2 separate regions of the Homo sapiens genome follow, and region 2 is linked to region 1. Evidence: promoter capture Hi-C in 16 types of primary human blood cells and fetal thymus (Javierre and others, 2016). All regions are on one chromosome and are shown on one strand. Each heading gives the region's core, a stretch centred on a gene start or on the middle of the fragment in contact. The rest is flanking DNA. Distances are from core to core; before and after follow the strand shown.

What was found. Contacts are between HindIII fragments. The CHiCAGO score rates a contact against its expected background, and 5 or more counts as called.
Region 2: a fragment that was not itself captured here is called in contact with the fragment with the promoter of PNPLA4 in region 1 in 1 of 17 cell types (total CD8 T cells); the score reaches 5.2 in total CD8 T cells.

What each region holds. Positions count from the first base shown.
Region 1 is chrX:7,926,045-7,930,182 of GRCh38, forward strand. It overlaps PNPLA4 (patatin like domain 4, phospholipase and triacylglycerol lipase), which reads right to left and starts at 1,369. Exons shown (of 7, transcript NM_004650.3): 1 at 1,242-1,369; 2 at 1-88. The coding sequence starts at 75. LOC107985675 (a long non-coding RNA gene) reads left to right here and starts at 1,456. Exons shown (of 5, transcript XR_001755784.2): 1 at 1,456-3,369. RefSeq lists a silencer at 1-98 and enhancers at 75-124, 787-1,016, 1,247-1,486, 1,507-1,556, 1,897-1,976. The HindIII fragment of the contact is 3,086 bases long and covers 1-1,997 here.
Region 2 is chrX:10,091,976-10,096,075 of GRCh38, forward strand. It overlaps WWC3 (WWC family member 3), which reads left to right. Exons shown (of 24, transcript NM_015691.5): 8 at 2,157-2,306. Among named protein-coding and RNA genes, the nearest start is that of CLCN4, 63 kb to the right of the region's middle. The HindIII fragment of the contact is 2,141 bases long and covers 943-3,083 here.

The DNA of each region.
Region 1 (4,138 bases), core at 119-2,618:
AAGTGCAGATGCTGCCCCCAAGTGGTAAATGCCCAGAAATCCACACGCTGCAAATGATAGGTTGATGTGCTTCATTCTAGCTGTAGCACTGGCAATACAAAAAACAAAAATGCTGTAAGTTGGAATAGTTTATCCCACATACTGTGTAGTCTTATGTTGATCATCGTTCCAAGGCTTTCTTCTAACATCATTCTCTGTTTTAAGCACAGTGGTTTCAATTAATTCTAATTAAACACAAGAATCTTTCAAGGAAACCCTTTCTTTCCCTCCTCACCTTGACCCAAGTCTTATACATTAAAACAAAACAAAACAAAAACATTCCACATTTATTCGGTACATAGATTATGAATCTACGATTTAATTACTTGGCAGGAAACAGACGTATAAATTCCAGTTGACAAGGGCATTTGGTCTTTTCTCTTGACCCTTTGAAACGTTTTGCGGGTGGGGGCGGCACTACCATTATGAAACAGAAAATTATTAGAGACCGTATCAAATTCCAAATGAACAATACATTTGTTCTTGGTAAGTGTATCAGAAGATTTCAAATACAGTTCCCTACTCCCCTTCCCAATTTCTATTGTGAGCACCCATGCTTTTATGAACGCCAATACAATTACTCAGTAACGCAATAAGCAATCACTCAACAATGCAATACATTTCTTTGCCAAGTATCTCAACACAAACTGAGGTCATGCCTGGTGAAGGCAATTTAAGGCTCTATGAAATGTCAGCCACGCCACTTTATACTTGGAACACATCTAAATACAAAATTACATGTTTTCCTATGCCTCAGTGCGCACAATTTGCCCAAGTGAATGAAATTGTGCCTCCACAAGGCTGTCCATTCTGAAGGTCTCAGGGTTTCCTTGGGGGCCCAAGGGCCCCATTCAGGGACCCCAAGATGAGGCACATTACAGGGCCTCGAATTTAGGGACCTAAGACCGCCTGTTCCTGATGCACCCGGCCAGGCCCTGTGAGGGCAGGTGGCTCGGCCGCCGCAGGCTGCGCTGGCGTCCGCGTAGGCTGAGTCCCAGTCATCGATCCGGGGTCAAGCCCCAGTTTTGATTCCACTTCTGCAAATGGGGACGGGAAGGGGGTTGGGTGTGTAGCAACCAGGCGGCCAGGCCCAGCCAGCACAGGCTCAGTGCCCTCCCGCGGCTTGGAGGCCGGCAGGGCCGGGGTGGTCCCCGCATCAGTCCCGCAGGAGCACACCCTTGCTGGGCCCCAGGGCTCCGTACCAATGCAGCCCCGGGACACTTCCGTGTTGAACGAGTCCCTTTAACCAGATGGCGGGGCCGGGCCGTCACTCAACGCCATTCCGCCACCAAGGCCGCGCTACGCTCTCCGCGAGCCGGCCCAGGAAAGTCCTGCGGCAGGGGTTGGTACCGCCTCCCGCGCAGGTATGTGACGTCATCGCGCCGACGAAGGCGCCCGCTAGGCCCCGCCTGCTCTATTTAAACTTCTGGACTCAACCTGGCCGCTAGACCGGAGCGTCCTCCAGCGCAGGCAAGGATTCCTCGTTTAGAGTCATGTTATCTTCGAGTACCTAGAGAGACATTTTAACCCACACCCTAGAGAGGCGTTGTAATCCTTACGTGTCTTTTAACGCTACTTGGCCCTTACCTGCGAGCAACTGACCTTTAATAATCCTCATTTTCTGTGCCCCGGAAGTGCCTTACCCTCTTCGCGTCTGTTTCCCGGAAGTGGTTCTTCTCCCTCTCCACCCTTTCGCCCGCCTGGGCGGTCCAGCTGCCCCTAGGGGCCAACTCCAGCGGCTATTTTGGGGCTGGACATCCCGCAGCTTTTCAAGGCGTGCCTTTGGTTTTTTTAAGAAGTGCTATCTAAAGGAAAAGCTGGACTATGACTCTGGGGAACTTTCATATCCTCAGTTGACCTTAGGCTGTGTGACCTTGAGCAGGTAGCATAACCTCTCTGAGTTTCCCGCGTGCCTTATGTGCAGATTGAGATGCTAAAATGAGAGAGCTAAATTGGAAAGCTTTTTCCACATAGGGGGCCGTGAGCAGGTGGCTGTTTTGTCCTCTGGCACCTTTGGCTCAGACTTAAGCAGCTTCAACGACCGCCAAGATGCCTGCCATGCCCACCAAGATTTAAAGGACTCTGATAATTCTTTCTCTCCCCAAACGGTGTTTTCCTTATCTAATCCTAATAACCAAGCCTGGAGGAATCCCTGACTTCGTGATTGAAGGCTCTCCAGGTCCCCTAGTTTAAGGGCAGAGATTTACTTTCTCTGAGGCTACAAAGGAGCGTCTGCGAGAATGTCTCTACCTTAGACAAAACAGGGAGGAGGGGTGGAGCTCTCCAAATTGCCTCTGGTTTGGGCTTTTTCTTTCTGTTTTGGTGTATCGTCTCTGGCCAACAACACCTGTGAGTCCTTGATGTGACGATTAGGGAAGATGTTTTTAATTCACATAACTATTCTTTAGAGAAAATTGATCCTGAAACACCTTATTGCCTTATCGTAGAATGACTGCATTACTCAGAATTCTTTACCTCTACCGGAATTTAGTGAAGGGAAGGCACAACGTACATTAGGAAAATACAGGACACACTCCAGTCCTTAAACCTTCCACAATCTTCTAGCTCTTTAAGGTCGAGTGTGATCCTCCCCAGAACTGCATCTTCCAGGAAGCTCATGAGAAAGGAAGGATCCCAGGTCCCATCTCTGATCTGAGTCGGCATCTGCGTTTTAACAGAATCCTGAAGCAGTGGTCTAACTCCTTTGGTGGTGTTATTGTTTGCATGTATACCTCCAAAATTCACATATTGAAATACTAACCCCCAAGGTGATAGTATTAGGAGGTGGGGCCTTTGGGAGGTAATTAAGTCATGAGGGTGAAGCCCTCATGAATGGGATTAGTACTCTTAGAAAAGGGACCCCAGAGAGGTCTCTTTCCACCATGTAAGGATAAAAGTACACGGAGAAGATGGCAATCTGCAAACTGGAAAAGGGCCCTCCTCAGAACCTGACCATCTTGGCACCTTGATCTCAGACTTCCATCTTCCAGAACTGTGAGAAATAAATTTCTTTTATAAACACTCAGTCAATGCTACTTTATTATAGCAGCCTGAATGGATTAAGACAGGTGGTCTGGTTTAAAGTGATGTGGTGGCATCAGAAGTTTAAGGAGAGACTGGATTTACAGAACCAGAATCTGGGATGCTGTTTACAGAGCAAGTTATTTCCTGCATTTGGACACTGTCAGCAGGTCGATTCAGGAGACAGGTGAAAACTTTATCACCGGGCAGCCTGGATGAACACCACAACTTTGATATCTTTCACTTAAAGGAAAGATAAGGGCATCCACTATTTCTACACCTGGCTGGCAGAGTGAGAGCTCACCAAAGGTAAGTCTCTTTGGAGCAGCAAAATGCTCCATAATTTAACTCTTAAAATTTTAAATTTATTTCCTCCTTACTCCCTTCAATCCCGTATCATATCTCCATGTAACTAGTTAAAAGTTCAGCTCTCAGCTGGGTGAGGTGGCATGTGCCTGTAGTCTCAGCCACTCAGGAAGCTGAGGTGGGAGGATTGCTTGAACCTAGGAGTTCATCTTCAGCCAGAGCAATGTAGTGAGACCTCATCTCTAAAGAAAAAACAAAAAACAAAAAAAGTTCAGCTTTCTAATGTAAGGAAGGATATATTCATTCACATTTGTCTTTGTCATCTCATCGCCAAGCTTAGCACTTGGCCCATAGTATATGATCAATAAATATTTGTTTTGGATGTTGGATTTATGTAAATTACCATTGTGATCTGAATATATAGTAATTTAATTGCTCTTTGAAACTTTTTTTTCTGTAATTAATTTGCTTATTTTTGCTCGTCTATTTTCCTTAGTAATTTAGTTTCAAACGGGTTTGTTTATTTAGCCATTTACGTAATTATTAATCATCTGTTGTATAGCAAGTGTTACGTTGGTACAGGGCATACACAGTTGAAAGAATTCAGCCCTTATCAGGGATGCAGAGTCCAGTGGATAGGGAGACATCTGATGTGTAATTACAGAGGCGTGATGATGTGGTATTGCAAAGCCATGCACAGATGCCCTGGTTGTGCACACCAGCTACGGAGTAGGAAACCTTTAGCTTCGGGAGGTGCCTACAGTAGCACCCA
Region 2 (4,100 bases), core at 763-3,262, 2.2 Mb after region 1:
AGCTGCTTCTTTCCTTGAGATGGTTGCATAGTATTTTACTATGTGGGTGTATTTGTATTATATATAGCTGGGATCATTGTAGCTTTATACTGCTTTATGTTTTTTTCCCCTTGAGCTTTTGTAGTTTCTGTTATTTTTAGAAAAAGTTGAACTTTTGCAAATGCAAAAAGCTGCCTCCATGGTGGGAAACTCAAGCAAGACATCTGAGTGGCTGGCCCTAGTGCTGCACATGGTGGCCTCAGAGAGGCCAAGGCAGGGGAGCGCTGCTTGACCTCATGACGTAAAGTGCTGGAATGCATTCAGTGCTTTTGGTTACAGCTTTTATTTTTCATCTGCTACCCTAAGTGAGCACCTACTGCCTGCTGGCATGTGTCTAGATTCTGTAGAGTATAAGACCCACAGGACAGAACAAGCAAAGCTCAAACTCATAGGCAAAATGAGACAGATGCACAAAAAAACTACCCTGCCTGGGTAGTGCCTTCTAAGGTCAAGGCCATGAGGGACTTGCGGAGAGTCCTCATGGTGCTTGTTAAGATGCAGATTACCAGGCCCCACCCTAGACTCACTGAATTAGAATCTCTGGAGGTAGGGCCTAGGAATCTATTTTCAGATGACCTCTCCAGGTTGTGATAAGTAAATGGTTAATTGTTAGATTTTTTTTTTTTTTGGCACACAGGTAGCACTGAGAACAGCTACCATTTATTGAGGTCTCTGCTCAGCTGACATCAAACAAGATGCCCCATGTTTGTTACCCATCGTCAATACCGCAGGCTGAACCATGTGGTGTTCCATGGTGGAGACACAGAGGCTTTACGCCATGAGGCCAAGCAGGGCTGCCTGCCCCGGCCTCTCTGAGGCCACCGTGTGCAGCACCAGGGCCAGCCACTCATTTGCCTTGCTTGAATTCCCACCGTGGAGGCAACAGATAGAATTTCTGGAAGAAGCTTCAGGCTCGAGCACCTTCTTTGACGTCTCCATAGCCTCTCAAACTCTGAGAAGCTCCAGGAAGAGGCACAGGCAGAGTCCTCTTCTATCCAGGTTAAATAAGTTGTTTTGCCTTTCTTATGTGAACTTAACAATATTGGCCCCTCCCAAGAAGGCCTTATCTCAATCTCAAGCCAGTTTTGTGAGTTCTACTGCACTTGGGCATTTTTGGTTCTGGTGTCTGTAGTAAAATTTGCTGAAAGTGAATATATTCAGAAGTCTAAAAGAAATGGTCAAAAATCTGATTTCTGGCTGGGTGCAGTGGCTCATGCTTATAATCTCAGCACTTTGGGGGGCTGAGGCAGGAGGATAGCTTGAGCCCAGAACTTTGAGAAAAGCCCAGGCAACATAGTGAGACCTGGTCTCTACAAAAACAAACAAACAAACAAAAGTTTAGCTGGGTGTGGTGGCATACCTGTAGTCCCAAGTACTCAGGAAGCTGAGGTCGGAGGATCACCTGAGCCAAGGAGGTCGAGGCTACGGTGAGCTATGATTGTGCCACTGCACTCCAGCCTGAGTGATAGAGTGAGACCCTCTCTCAAAAAAAAAAAAAAAAAAAAAAAAAATCAGAATTCTGATTTCTGCTTAAAACTGCCACACAGAGAGATTTCATGTGCCAGAATGCATACTAACTCTAATTTTTGGCAAACCAACATACATATGAGATTACTTTTGACCATGTAGAATTATGACTGAGAAATGAGGTTTATAAAAATACGTAAGCTAAAACAGCAACTCAAAGAACTGAAAAAGAAATACGTAAGCATTGTCTGGGAGCTGTTTTCCCCTTCCCTGTTTTTCCTCTGTAACAATCTCAAGGCAGCATTCATCTCTGTCAGGCTCATTTACATTTTCGATAGAAATACTTATTTTTTTCTTTAGGAAACATGAAGGTTTAAGAACCAGTAAAAATGGTACCATAATTGTCCTCTATTTTATTCACATGCTGCCAGGGGGACTTAGTTGCGATGTGATTTAAATGACTAAGAATTTTATTAGAGGTGCCTGTGATGAAGGGCATTTATGTGAAATCTAACGAGCATGGGGGTGAGGTGGGGCAACTGTTCAGTAATAAATAATGCAGCAGACCTAAAACAAATGAGAGAACCACTTCTGGAGGGAAGAGACACATCACCATCTCCGTTCAAAGAGCTTGTCTCATTGTGTTCCAGAGCCTGGCCAAGCTGACCGATAGCTTCAAGAACAGCTGCTCCGTTACCGACTCTCTAGTGGACTTCCCTCACCATGTAGGCGTGCCTGGCGATGCTGGTGTACCCCAGCAGTTCTGCGATGCCGGCTCCCAGACTGATATCATCGGGGAGGTATATGCGCGCCCAGGGGGAGAAATGCACCGGGAGAGGGGAGGGCTGCTTCAGTGTTGCCATCACTGGTTTGGTGTAATTTTCCATGTTCACTTAAGAAATGCCTTCACTTTTGTGCCATTAAGTTTGAAGAAAAAGTGTTGTGTCTCACATCCAGCTGTGTGATACAATTGAATTGCTTATTACTGCTGCCCTTATGATTTGGACTCTTATAAATGACATACTCCTTGTGAGAGTTGAGTTTCACTGTTCTTTTGACAGACATATCACTTTTTAGAGCATGAGTCCCCACGCTTTTTCTGTGAAGGGCCAGATAGTAAATATAGTCACTATTTTAGGCTTTGCAGGTAGTTCTGCTGGAACTGCCCCACCCTGTCATTGTAGTGTACATGCAGCCATAACAGAGATGCCTTGCAAGCATGTAAGACTGGGGCCTCGAGCTGCTCAAACGTTCACTTACGGAACAGCCAGTGGGCTGGATTTGGCCCCAGGGCCATAGTTACTGATTCCTGCCTTAGACCACTGATTTCCAAAGGCTTTATAGCTGTGCCACCTTGGGTGTTACTTTATTGCTGTTTCTTACTCTTCTAAAAGAATGTCAGGAAATTGAATTGAACTAAAAGTCATTTTTGTTTGAGACTTGGAAGAATGTCATAATGCCTCCTTTGTTAATTAGCGAAGCCTTGAGTTAGCCACAAAAACAAAGTTGGGAAAATCACCATTTGAAGCAGGATGGTGGATATTCAAAGACGCTAGTATTGTAATATCATTGAGTGAAGCTTGACATTAATTTGTTACCAAATGGAAAAACAGTTTAAAGAGCTTCTTTTTTTTTTTTTAAGGATTATTAAGTAAAGATGAGGTATCAATGGAATGCACAGTGCCACCCCTCCCCCGAAATTAAATAAATAAAAGGAAAGCAACAAAAGGAGGAAAAAACAATTGATGGAAAACTCTGGGTTTTAAATAATTAGCTAATTAATATTTTGAAATCTTAGCAACTAGTGCCTCTTCGAGTGGAGTATAATGTAGGAAATCACGGCCCTTTATGTCTTGGGTGTCCTGGAACAGTCCTATTTTCAAATTTGCCTGCGTTGTTCCAAACGTACACTTGGCCGTTTTTGACTAGGCATCTTCTTTGGATGAAAGAATATGGTCGCCATCTGTAACACACAGAGGAGAATCTGTAATTCAAAAATGTTTGGCATTTTTGCGTAAAGATTTTGGAGCGAGAGAAGGAAACAAGTGTAAGACTCATTGAATTCGTGAATAATTCATTGCTGCTTATTGTAAGGTTAGAATTAGAATTTAGTTTGAGAGAAACAGTTAAGATAGAAGGTTCTCCAGTGATTTAGGTCAACCCTTCTAAAAATGTCAGGTGAGGAGTGGTGGCTGGTTATGCTACTTGAGCAGTCACTGCTCATTGTTGATAAGCTCCTGAAGTTTACCGGGGCTGACCCTAGGTCAGCAATCTCATAGCTGTTATCTCAGTTTAAGTAGTTGTTCCCATCCTGTGTGATGTGCAGGAGACCGAGATGCCAGGTTACCTAAGGTCTTGTAGCTGAGGAGAGGCAGGTCTGGTTTTGAAACATTTCTCATCCCTAAACCCCTGTACTTTCTAAGAAACCACATCATGTTATAGAAAAATAGATCAAAAGGCTATGACTGTATTAGCTAACCATTGCTGCATAACAGATTTCCCCAAAACCTAGCCTCTTACAACAACACTCCTTTATTATCTCATGCTTGATGTGGTCCAGGAGACTGGGCTGGGTCTTCTGCTCCAGGGTCTCT